3 separate regions of the Homo sapiens genome follow, and regions 2 and 3 are each linked to region 1. The links are contacts of gene promoters, found by promoter capture Hi-C in blood cells and fetal thymus (Javierre and others, 2016). All regions are on one chromosome and are shown on one strand. The core of a region is centred on a gene start or on the middle of the fragment in contact, and the rest is flanking DNA. Distances in the headings are between cores, read along the strand shown. Region 1 holds the start of RDH12 (retinol dehydrogenase 12). Region 2 overlaps PLEK2 (pleckstrin 2). Region 3 has its middle 7.1 kb from the start of MIR5694.

Region 1 (4,280 bases), core at 1,254-3,753:
TGTCTCAACCAAAAATTTAAAAAATAAATGAATAAATAAACAAAAAATAAATAAATAAAATAGGCAGTGTACTGGTGTGTGCCTTTGGTCCCAGCTACTCCGGAGGTTCAGGTGGGAGGATTTCTTGAGCCTCACAGGTTGAGGCTGCAGTGAGCTGTGATTGTGCCACTGCACTCCAACCTGGAAGACAGAGCAAGACCCTATCTCAAAAAAAAAAAAAAAAAAAAAAAGAAACAGAGAGAGAAAGAAAGAAAGTTATGTGGATGTAAAAAATCTTCACCTTTTTAAAGCTTTTTTTTTTAAAGTGATCAAAACACAGTAAGTCACAGGAATTACCTTGATAAAACATTAAGAAAAATTTTAGGATAGTTACTAAAAAGTAAAGAAAAACCTTTTGTAATATGATTGTTTTTCTTTATTGGAACTCTATTTAGATAACCTGGAAGACAAACTCAATGAAAAGAATACTTGGATTTAGGCTGGGCGCGGTGGCTCACGCCTGTACTTCCAGCACTTTGGGAGGCCGAGGTGGGCGGATCATGAGGTCAAGACATCGAGACCATCCTGGCCAACATGGTGAAACCCCGTCTCTACTAAAAATACAAAAATCAGCTGGGCGTGGTGGTGCGCACCTGTAGTCCCAGCTCCTTGGGAGATGGAGGCAGGAGAATCGCTTGAACCTGGGAGGCGGAGGTTGCAGTGAGCTGAGATGATGCCACTGTACTGCAGCCTGGAGACAGAGCGAGAAAAAAAAAAAGGATACTTGGATTTAATTAAAATACAGGAAGAGTGTGTCCAGAGTTATGAGTGTACACTATATTTTTGAGGAAAGTAAACAAGGAAACTTGTATCTTAAGCAGGACAATAAATATGTCTCAGTAACAGCATCAAAAGTGCCCTGGTTATAGGAAATAATTTAGCTATATCGAGAAAAGCCAAGACTACAGAATCAAGTTATATTGGAGGAAAATGGTTTTGTTCCAGAGCTTTAAGATAAACATTTTAGCATCAGGCCACACCAGAGTTAGAACCAGAGAAAAAGATTACAGAAGGCCGGGCACAGTAGCTCACGCCTGTAATCCCAGCACTTTGGGAGGCCGAGGTGGGCAGATCACGAGGTCAGGAGATCGAGACCATCCTGGCTAACACGATGAAACCCCGTCTCTACTAAAAATACAAAAAATTAGCCGGGCGTGGTGGCGGGCGCCTGTAGTCCCAGCTACTCGGGAGGCTGAGGCAGGAGAATGGCGTGAACCTGGGAGGCGGAGCTTGCAGTGAGCCTAGATCGCGGCACTGCACTCCAGCCTGGGTGACACAGCAAGACTCCATCTCAAAAAAAAAAAAAAAAATTACAGAAGTTGGCTGGGCATGGTGACTCATGCCTGCAATCCCAGCACTTCGGGAGGCCGAGGCGGGTGGATCAGCTGAGGTCAGGAGTTTAAGACCAGGCTGGCTAGAATGATGAAACTCTGTCTCTACTAAAAATACAAAAATTAGCTGGGCACGGCGGCGAATGCCTCTAATCCCAGCTACTCGGAGGCTGAGGCAGGAGAATCACTTGAACCTGGGAGGCGGAGGTTGCAGTAAGCGGAGATCTTGCCACTGCACTCCAGCCTGGGTGACAAGAGCAAAATTTCATCTCAAAAAAAAAAAAAAAAAAAAAAGTCAAAGATTACAGAAGTTGACAAAAAGGTTGAAGGAGAGGATTATCATTTCAACCAAGAAAAACATGTATCTTTTTAAGGGTATAAAGAACGAACAACAACGATTCATGACTTGGGAATCATGTGCAGCGAGGTATAGCACAAGTAGAATTTTTTGAGATATAAATTTGAGAAGTTTTAGAAAAGAAATAGATTGTAGAATTTAAAATCAAAAGCTCTTGTAATTCACTAAGAGCAAATTTATACTTTAAGACAATGTTATTTTAACATAGAGGACCAAAATCTCAATCTTTAGAAACACTTATAACTTTTTTTTGATTATAGCCAACTTAATCACATATACATTTAAAAAAATTTTAAAGAACTTTATTATAATTTCTTTTTTTTTTTTTTTTTTTTTTGAGATGGAGTCTGTTGCCCAGGCTGGAGTACAGTGTCACTATCTTGGCTCACTGCAAACTCCGCATTCCAGGTTCAAGTGATTCTCCCGCCTCAGCCTCCCGAGTAGCTGGGACTACAGGCATGCGCCACCATACCTGGCTACTTTTTGTATTTTTAGTAGAGATGAGGTTTCACCATTTTGGCTGTGCTGGTCTCGAACTCCTGACCTTGTGATCCGCCCACTTCAGCCTCCCAAAGTGCTGGGATTACAGGCATGAGTCACCACGCCAGGCCTATTATGATTTCTGTAGACTATTTATGACATGTTTGAACTTTTGTTTTGCCCTACCCTTTCTCTTTTATAATTAACCTGTCATTTTGCTTTAGGAAAATAATTTACCATGTAATAAATTATTATCATGCAGTGGCATGATCAGCTCATCGTAACCTCAACTCCTGGGCACAAGCAATCCTCCCTTCTCAGCTTCCTGAGTGGCCAGGACTACAGGTAAGTGCCACCATGCCAGACTAATTTTCAAAATTTTTGTAGAGACAGTATCTCACTGTGTTGTAGAGACAGTGTCTCACTATGTTGCTTAGGCTTGTCTTGAACTCCTGATCTCAAATGATCCACCTGCCTTGGCCTCCTAAAGCATTAGGATAACAGTCATGAACCACTGTGCCCAGCTTTTTTAAAAATTTAATATATATATATTTTTTAAATGGAGATGAGATCTCATTATGTTGCCCAGGCTGGTCTCAAACTCCTGAGCTCAAGTGATTCTCCCACCTTAGGGTCCCAAAGTGCTAGGATTACACACATGAGCCACCATGCCTGGCCTGTGCTCAGTTTTTTAAGTTTTTTTCTATTAACCATTTTTATAGCCTGTGAATGTCAGATATTTACCTAAGCAAGAAATTTAAAGTTAAATACATGGGTATTTTGTTGATAACTCAGAAGGTTTAGCTGTATTTCTTAAACCAACAATATTAAATTAGTCTTACTTATAAAAAAAATCACACAAAGATTATTTTGGTTTTGGCTGGGTTCATAGTTTTTTACCTTTGTGCCAAATCCTGACCCTGTAAAATATTTAATAAGACAAGTATAAATCTGACCATAAATCTAGGCAAATATGTATGTTGACAATTTTGAAGACATTTTAATATTTATTTTACTAATAATTTTAAAGCCAGTTTATTTATTAAAGAATTACTTAAGTCATGTGAACTTGGAAAACCTTTGGGCTTACTAATTTATGAGTGCTCATTTATCTATAAGTCAATTGGGTATCATGTAGATACAACATATAACATATTACATGTATATATGTAAACACATCTAAACACACATATATATGCACAAATAGAGATCTTATACCTTTATTTTTTGATTTGTCTTTTGAAACAGGGCCTCACTCTGTTGCCCAGGGTAGAGAGCAGTGGTATGACCATGGCTCACTGCAGCCTGGACCTCCCAGGCTCAAGTGATTCTCCCACCTCAGCCTCCTGAGTACCTGGGACTACAGGTGCGTGCCGCCATGCCCAGCTAACTTAAAAAAGTTTTTTTTTTGTAGAGTCAGAGTCTCACTATGTTGCCAGGGCTGGTCTTGAGCTCCTGGGCGCAAATGATCCTCCTACCTTGGCCTCCCAAAGTGCTGGGACTGCTGGCATGAGTCACCTCATCTGGCCCTTATAGTTTTCATTTTAGAATTTTAGTCATGAGATAGTAATACAAACTCACCAGTTTATAAAAGATAGTTGGATCTAAATTATTTTTGGAAAAAATTGGGACCTGTTAGTTCACATGGCTAAATTTTATTTGTCCCAATAGGTAATCTAATGAAGGCTGTGAGCCAAAATTTTTGGGTAAGGTAGTTCGATGGCAGTTTTATTTTAAAAATCTTTTATCCTTTTATTCAGTTTCAAATGAGTTTAGAGTTAGGTTTTTAATGTTAACATTTTAGCTTGAACTGGCTGAATCGTATAAGAAAAACAAAATTTCTAAGTCTTCTTAAGTTAGTAATACTATAAACAGTGAGCTTTATCTCAACACAAGTAGAAAAGTCAGTAGTTTCAAAGTAGGCAGAAAAAATATATAGAGGTAGACAGAGAACTTAGACGATCCTACATGTTAACTCTGTAGTTCTGGGTGGACCACTTGAGTTCTAATCTGTCTATTATTTTAAGATGTGCACAACAATGGGCCATAATATGTATCTAGCTGGAGTCTCA
Region 2 (4,280 bases), core at 806-3,305, 310 kb before region 1:
ATGGAGGCCAGGGTCACCGCCTCCAGACGGCTGGCCGTGAAGCTGTTGGAGATGAGCCAGTCCACCAGGGAGGAGCCTGGCCAAGGGCAGCACCAGTCAGGCGATGGGTGATGGACCAGCGTCCTTGGGGTGTGTGGCCAATGACCTCACTGACCTTGGCCCTCTGGGCAGCCTCAGGGCTCTACGCAAGAGCAGACTGAAGGCCACACCTGCTGCATAGAGCCGTGGCTGCACACCCACACATGGCCATCTCAGGCTAGCCTGTTGCCCAGCAGGCAGCTCTGACCTCAATACAGGGCGGTCAAGCACACAGCTGAGCCCTGCATCACCATGTCCCAGCTTGACTGCCCAGCCCGGCCCTGGGGGACAGGCTCACCGAGGAAGGTCTTTTTATAGGTGCTTCCCTGCTCCATGTTGGGGCTTGAACGGATTCCGGTGTTGCTATCGTGCATCTTGTCCACAATGCGACTACATGGAAGGGAAGGCAAAGGAGAGGGAACCCTCATCACGCGGGCAGGTATAAGGGAGGGTCCTGAGTCACTGCTAAGGGTATAAAGCAAGTGGCAAATGGTGTGACACACATCACAAAGAAAAGGGGTGTAGGAAAGCAGCCTTTTGAATGGCAAGAGTGATGCCATCTTGAAGTGAAGCCGCCATGATGATTGATTTTTGTTGTTGTTGTTTTTTGTTTGTTTTTTGAGACAGAGTCTCGCTCCGTCACCCAGGCTGGAGTGCAGTGGCAAGATCTCGGCTAACTGTGACCTCCGCCTCCCAGGTTCAAGTGATTCTCCTGCCTCAACCTCCGGAGCAGCTGGGATTACAGACATTTGCCACCACACCTGGCTAATTTTTGTAGTTTTAGTAGAGATGGGGTTTCACCATGTTGACCAGGCTGGTCTCGAACTCCTGACCTCAAGTGATCCGCCTGCCTCAGCCTCCGAAAGTACTGGGATTACAGGTGTGAGCCACCGTGCCTGGCCTGATGATGGATGTTTGACTCCTGCATACCACGGTGTTCCCATAGCACGGCTCACCCCTCATAAAGATGTTTATCTAACCTCCCCAGTGGTCACAGGTTTCACAAGAAAGTCTGAGGCACCACTAGCTGCACATTTTCCCAAAAAAGCTTGCTATATAAAGGATATTTTCTGGAAGACAAGTGTGGTGATTCGCTGTCTCTAGGCCAGCAGGGACATCACTTCTGTTTGTAAGTCCCTATTAAATGCCTCTTTGTGAGAAACTGGAATTGTCAGCCTCTTTCTCCTGCCTCTCAGCTCCCCTTGCAGGTAGGTTTGTTTATACCTCCTCACCACAGAACAGGGTGTTCAGTTATGCCTCCAAATTTGAGAGGCAGGATTTTCAGACATTTCTTTTCTTCTCCTTATCTAAATGTTCTTATATTTCTATGCCAGACACACACTGCTTTTGTAGTAAAACCAAAGAGGTGTGACTTTTAACTTACAAACAAGAGTGTATGCTGGGCACAGTGGCTCATACCTGTCATCCCAGTGCTTTGGGATACTGAGGTGGGAGGATCACTTGAGCCCAGGAGGTCAAGGCTGCAGTGAGCCATGATCGAGCCACTGCACTCCAGCCCGGGCAACTGAGTGAGACCCTGTCCCCAAAAAAGAAAAACAAAAAAGCCCCAAGAGTGCACAGTAGCCCACATGGTTCTCTGTGATCCCCTGCATTAAGTCCAAACCCCCTCAGCTACTTTTCCAACTATCTTTAAACCCACCTGCCTACCCACCTTTATCTGCAGCTGATCCTCCCTGCACCCACCTAGACCCATAGGAGGTGTACAGTCAAGATTTCAGTGCCTGGTGGGGAGTTTTTGTGAGCCCAGGAATGGATTCATACATCTTTGATGGGTGTTAACAGTTCTTTTGCCTGGGAGGTTGGTGGAGATTTACTGTGGTTTGAATGTTTATCCCAAAACTCATGTTGAAAATCCCCAATGTGGCAATATTGAGAGGTGATGCCTTTAAGAGGTGATTGGGTCATGGGGGCTCTGCCCTTGTGAATGGATTAATGGGTTAAATGAATTAATGAATTATCATGGGAATGGGACTGGTGGCTTTATAAGAGGAAGAGAGATCGGAGCAAGCATGTTAGCATGCTCAGCCCCCTCACTGTGTGATGCCCTGCACTGCCTCAGGACTCTGCAGAGAACTCCCACCAGCAAGAAGGCCCTCACCAGATGCAGCCCCTCAACCTTGGACTTCCCAGCCTCTATAATGATAAGAAATAAATCCCTCCTTATGAGTTACCCAATTTCAGGTATTCTGTTATAAGTAACAGAAAACAGACTAAGACGAGATTTTGGGGGAGCTGTGACACAGCCCTGAGCACCCTGGCTGAAATGGAATGGGGGTCTTGTGTCATGGAGGTGTGCAGAGGTGGCAAGAGCCACGAGAGATCCCATAGGAATGGGGCAGGTAGGTAGGGCCACTCCCAAGCAGAGAAAATAATATACACAGGACAGGAACAGCTGAAGGCCCTGAAGCACCGTGGTGGCACCAGCCAGACTGTGCAGCAAGCACAGAGCCCCCCCAAGGGGCAGGGTCCCCTGCCCACCCAACACAGGCAGGAGAGGCTGCCACAGAGCCCGGCAAGTGGGGCACTCACTGCAGGCTGATGTGCGGGGGCAGCTTGAAGGAGTTTCTCAGGCTGTGCAGCTGCTGGACCTTCCCCGGCTGCCCTGCATGAATAGCCCCGGTGATCTCAAAGGCCCAGGCATCCCGCTCCTCTCGAGAACAGGCCTCCAGGAAGTACTCCGTGGATGTTTGAGTCTTCAGCTTAATGAGGAGCTGTGGGAAGAGAGAGCCAGTCAGGCCAGCACTCAGGCAGAGCAAGAGGACGCCGGGCAGCAAAAATGACGGGGCCCCGGGAGAATCTAGGTGACAGTGACTGCCAAATGCCCTGAGCCCTCGGCCACATAGCAGGTAGTCTTTAAAGATTCACTTGGACACCTCCAGTGACAGGAAGCTTGCGGCCTCACACTGCAGCCTTTCCCTTGTGGACAAGGTAGTTACTGTAGGGCCTGCCTCCTGGACACACTAGTTCTGTTCTCTCTTCTAGAACCACACAGATGAAGACTCACCTCCTATGACAGCCCCTACACTGAAGAGGGAAATGCCCAGGCTTTAAAATCAGTCCCATCTGAACACAAACCCCAGCTCTGCCACTTGGCTGTGGACTCCCGGGCACATTAGGAAATGACAGGATATTAATGCCTACCTCAAATGGCCTGTTAGTCATGCTCCCTTCCGTCCTCTTTCCTGTGTCTAAGCATCAAGTCTTTCACACATTTCTCATAGGATATAGTTTCAGCTCCTTCCCATCCAGGTCGCTTTGTTTTTTTGTTTTGTTTTGTTTTTTGTTTTTTTCTTGAGACGGAGTCTTGCTCTGTCGCCCAGGCTGGAGTACAATGGTGCAATCTCAGCTCACTGCAAACTCCGGCTCCCAGGTTCAAGCAATTCTCCTGCCTCAGCCTCTTGAGTAGATGGGACTACAGACGCCCACCACCCCGCCTGGCTAATTTTTGTATTTTTAGTAGAGACGGGGTTTCACCATGTTGGCCAGGCTGGTCTTGAACTCCTGACCTCAGGTGATCTGCCAGCCTTGACCTTCCAAAGTGCTGAGATTACAGGCATGAGCCAATGCGCCTGGCCTCTAAGAGAGTTTTCATCAGACCATGCTCTCACTCAAAATCTTCAATGGCTCTCCATTACCTCCATCTGGCCCAAACCAAACTCCTATCACTCCTTTGGTGAACATTCCCCTTTGACCACACTGGAGGCCCTTCTCCCCAGAAGCCACACCCACCTCTCTGCATGCATTCTCTTCTTACTTTTACTCAAGACATTCTACCTGTCCAGAATGACTGCCTCTCTCCTTGTTCCATCTTTGCCCACATCTCTATTCCTGAAGCGTTGCCTGACCCAGCCTGAAATATCTTTTTCCTCTTCAGGGATAAAGGGTTTTCTGCAGCTCCTGATAGCTGTGGCATCATTGGAATGCCAAATATTTTTCAATTAACCACTTGCTTTCCCAATAAAATCAGCAACTCTATGAAGAAACAATCTTACCATTTTCTTCCTTGATTCCTCCATGCCTTGCAAATGTCTTGGCACATGATGGGCCCTTGATAAATAATTTATTGGGAGACTTTTTTTTTTTTTTTGAGGAGTCTCATTCTGTCACCCAGGCTGGAGTGCAGTGGCGTGATCTCGGCTCACTGCAAACTCTGCCTCCCAGGGTCAAGCGATTCTCCTGCC
Region 3 (4,280 bases), core at 1,254-3,753, 270 kb before region 1:
GAAACCAAGGTGTTGGCAGAGTTGGTTCTTTCTGGAAGCTCTGAGGGAGAATCTCGGGCTTCTCTGCTGCCTTATGGTGGTTGCCGGCAACCTGGGTGGTCCTGGGTTTGTAGGGGCATCACTCCAATCTCTGTTTTGGTGGTCGCATGTGGTGTTTTCCCTGTCTGTGTGTCTTTGTTTTCTCTTTTATAAAGTTCCCAGTCATTTGATTTAGGGCCCACCCTCATCTAGGTATGACCTCATTTTAAGTAATTATGTCTGCAGAGACCCTGTTTCCACATAAGGTCACATTCTGAGCTTCTTGTTGAGCTTGAATGTTAAGGAGACACCATTCAACGTAGTCCTCTCTGTTTTTCTGTTTTGTTCAATAAATAGGGAGGGCACTTTTAGAACATTCTGACTCTTCCTTAACCAGCCATGTCCCAACCCAGGAAGTTGATGCCCATCTTACAAGGAGGGCCAGAAAAAGGGAACAAGGCACACAGAGGTATCCTCAGAGCTGATGGATGGCTGCTGGCAGATGCCCAGAAACAGGTGCTGGGCCTGGAGGGTGGAAGTATATACCATGGTAGCTACATGGTTTGGTGTCAAAATACTTGTATTTTAGTGAGCATGAGAATGAGAGTAAGAGTGGGACAGAGAGAAGAGAAAAGGGAGGGAGAAAGATGGCTTATTCACACACAAAAATTTAGTGGTTCAGAATTAATTTAACTTGGAATAAATGATTTTTTTTTCAAAGAAAATTTTAAAGTTGGAGGTATAGAGGAAAACGTGAAAGAATACAGAGATGTACTTTGATCCTAATTGTGAAGTCTAAATAGTTAAAACTAAAATGGAATATAAAGACAAATGAGACGCATCCTATAATTCAACAACAACAACAACAACAAACCCATTAAAACTCATCGGGAGTATGAATGGACAAAATATCAAAAAAATTTTTGTGGGGGAAAAAGAAGGAGGAGGGTAAACTTAAAAAAGCAGTCATCACTATATTTCACTGGGGTAAAGACAAGAAAAGTTGGCCAGGGTAATAGAAGAGACATACTCTACAGAAACAAATTCAAGCTATTTAAAGACTTGATATAAGATGAATAAGCATCAACACAATGCTACAAGAAAGAATCACTGTTTAACAAATATCGTCTAAGTGGGTCATAAAAAGCCAGAGAAAATGGGAAAGCAAATGTGTTTCCACTGTGATGAGAAGAAAACATTTTGACTATTGATGAAATTAGATATCAGAGACAGGATGGACGGATCTAAATGTGTTTTTAAAAGCCTTTTGTGCCACAGAATGTAATAAAGCAAACACAAAAATGAAAGCCACAGATGGGGGAGAAATATATGTGGCAAATTAAGCTTTCTATCCAAAATAGCTAAAGAACAGATCTAACTATAAAAGGCCAGTATCCTGCTCCTTTTTGATAAGTACTCAAAGGAAATGAGCAGAGAGTTTACACACAATACTTCACATAGAAAAATAGGCAGCCCCACCATGTATCTTGAATTTGCAATTTCAGTGAATTTTATAATGTTATAAAAATTAATATAAATGATAAAACAATGTTTGATTGTTCAAATTCCCTGGATGCTAATTTGGCAAAACCTACAAAACAGTTCCTATCCTTTGATTCCATAATCCTAATTCTAAGGAAGTAGCTAAAGAAAACAGTTAGAACAAAGTCATTTCTACAAAGTGTTTGCTGCAGTATTATTCAAATAGAAAAAACAGAAACTAACCACTTGCACAGTGATTTCTAAATCAGTGTTTCTTAAAATGGGGCTGAAGGACTGTCTATATCAGAGAAGAATCGCTGATGGGAGCCTGGGAGTATTCATTTTATCAAGAAGGTCAGTTTATGAAACCACACTAAAGTTCGAGAGCCACTAGACTCTAAGCAAACCACAGACCATGAGAACATTTGGAGGACTAAAGAATGTTTCAGGTAACAGACCTGTTCATGCATAGAGGTGGGAAGAAGGAATAATGATGACAGCAGAGAGAACACCAAACCCTACAGGCAGTGTCTTGGTCCGTGTTTTGTTGCTTATAACAGAATATCTGAAACGGGGTAATTTATAAAGAAAAGGGATTTATTTTGTACTGTTATTGAGTTGAGAAGTCCAAGGTCCAGGGGGTGCATCTGGTGAGGGCCTTCTTGCTGGTGGGAACTCTCTGCAGAGTCCTGAGGTGGTGCAGGGCATCACATGCTGAGGGGGTGAGCATGCTAATGTGCTAGCTCAGGTCTCTCTTCCTCTTCTCTCTCTCTTTTTTTTTTTTTTGAGATGGAGTCTCACTCTGTCACCCAGGCTGGAGTGCAATAGTGCCATTTCGGCTCACTGCAGCCTCCTCCTCCTGGGTTCAAGCAATTCTTCTGCCTCAGCCTCCTAAGTAGCTGGGATTATAGGCACCCGCCACCATGCCTGGCTAATTTTTGCATTTTTAGTAGAGATGGGGTTTCACCAAGTTGGCCAGGCTGGTCTCAAACTCCTGACCTCAGGTGATCCACCTGCCTCAGCATCCCAAAATGCTGGGATTACAAGCCTGAGCCATCACGCCCAGCCTTTTCCTCTTCTTATAAAGCTACCAGCTCCACTCCCATGATAGCCGGTTAGTCCGTTAACCCATTAATCTATGAATGGATTAACCCATTCATGAGGGCAGAGCTCTCATGATCCAATCACCTTTTAAAAGCCCCTCCTCTCAATACTGCCACATTGGGGATTAAGTTTCAACATGAATTTTGGAGGGGACATTCGAACCATAGCAGGCAGCAACAGCCCCTGTCTGAGATGCCCACAGGGCAGTGGCCACAACAGGGTATGGCGGCTAAAGTCATTGGAGTGTTGTAACACTGTGCTTTGTTTAAAAACTCATTATGGTCATACAAGTTTTCTTTTATTTATCAAAGTCCCAGGGAGGTCACTGGAAGCAATAACAGAGCACCTACAAAGAATCTCCAGAACGCTTGCCTCAAGTCATCCTTTTCTGGATGTCACTCCTTCCCTTTCTCTGTCTTGCACTCCCAGTCCCTGGGTGACTAACAGGACCTTTCTGCCTTCAACTCTGCCCAAGGCCTCCCATCCCATAAGCATCACCCCGCTGTGTCCTTGGCCACGTCCATTGGTGGTGCCAGCGGGTGGAGGTGTTGTCCTGTCCTTAGGACAGTTCACTGACCACACATTTTTGCATCAAATAAGGGGGAAAAAGAGCTTAGCAGGCAGTCTACTGGAGACTGCGGATGGTTAAGTATTTGCTTTTGAGGATGGGGAGGCAAGGCAGGTCTGATGGGATGTGTTGCTAAAGCAATTGTGAGCTTCTCTGGCTCCCAGAGGGCTTACTTCCCTTAGGGCTGATTCCCGAGGCACAGAAATGCCACCGTAGCTCTACTTCCCACAGAAGCCTCTTTACTGGAAACTACTGATCCATTCTTGCCTGGAGTCTTGGGGCTTCTTGCCAGTATCTGTGAATGTCACAGGATACTACTGTCCAGCCAAGGTTGGCCAACCTCCTCCAAGAAGCCTGGGCAAATGCCCAGGATGCCAGGCCAGTAGGCGCCTGTGTGGGAGGGGAGAGTTCACTCTATACCATGGAGTAGCTGGGGGATATTGGGGTAGCCAGGCCTAGCCCAGCAACATATCAAGCTTTTATTCGTTGCTTTCTGCAGCCGTAAGGGAGAATACAAAGTCCTCCTTTCAAACTAGCACATCTGTTCCCTGGCCCTGCAATACCAGCTCTCACCCCTTCCTGGCTCTCTCACAGCTGCCCCCTCTAGGTGGTACCCAGTCTTCTGCAGCCTTGCATGGTTCAGCCGAGGGAGCCCCTTTCCATATGGAGACCAGGCAGGGGAGAGTTTCTTCAGGACACCAGAGTGGGCATTAGGGAACTGTTAGTCTGCTCCCAGCCTCCATCTGGCACCCGATAATCTCACTGCCACGCCCAGTCCTTCCACAAGTTCCTCCCATAGGGTCAGAATCCAGCCCAGAGAGCAGGTTCCCAGACCTCTGTGCAGTGAGCTGCCCTCTGGAGGGAGAGAGGAGAGGAGAGAAATGGCAGAGAAGACACCAGGCAGGCCAGGCGCTGTGGCTCACGCTTGTCATCCCAGCACTTTGGGAGGCTGAGATGGGAGGATCACATGAGCCCAGGAATTTGAGACCAGCCTAGGCAACAGAGTGAGACCCCATCTCTACAAAAAATTAAAAATATTAGCCAGGCTTGGTGGCACACACCTGTAGTCCCAGCTACATGGGAGGTTGAGGTGGGAGAATCACTTGAA

What was found. The method cuts DNA at HindIII sites, captures the fragments that hold promoters and counts their contacts. A CHiCAGO score of 5 or more calls a contact.
Region 2: a contact is called between a fragment that was not itself captured here and the fragment with the promoter of RDH12 in region 1, in 1 of 17 cell types (naive B cells). The highest score is 5.0, in naive B cells.
Region 3: a fragment that was not itself captured here is called in contact with the fragment with the promoter of RDH12 in region 1 in 15 of 17 cell types (naive B cells, total B cells, naive CD4 T cells and 12 more); the score reaches 10.9 in naive B cells.

The regions. Positions count from the first base shown.
Region 1 is chr14:67,699,383-67,703,662 of GRCh38, forward strand. It overlaps RDH12 (retinol dehydrogenase 12), which reads left to right and starts at 2,504. Exons shown (of 9, transcript NM_152443.3): 1 at 2,504-2,553. It also overlaps a transcript of GPHN not described here. The HindIII fragment of the contact is 4,699 bases long and covers 289-4,280 here.
Region 2 is chr14:67,392,774-67,397,053 of GRCh38, forward strand. PLEK2 (pleckstrin 2) reads right to left here. Exons shown (of 9, transcript NM_016445.3): 3 at 2,629-2,810; 4 at 377-468; 5 at 1-76. It also overlaps a transcript of GPHN not described here. Among named protein-coding and RNA genes, the nearest start is that of PLEK2, 17 kb to the right of the region's middle. The HindIII fragment of the contact is 1,862 bases long and covers 1,125-2,986 here.
Region 3 is chr14:67,432,699-67,436,978 of GRCh38, forward strand. It overlaps a transcript of GPHN not described here. Among named protein-coding and RNA genes, the nearest start is that of MIR5694, 7.1 kb to the right of the region's middle. The HindIII fragment of the contact is 2,286 bases long and covers 1,361-3,646 here.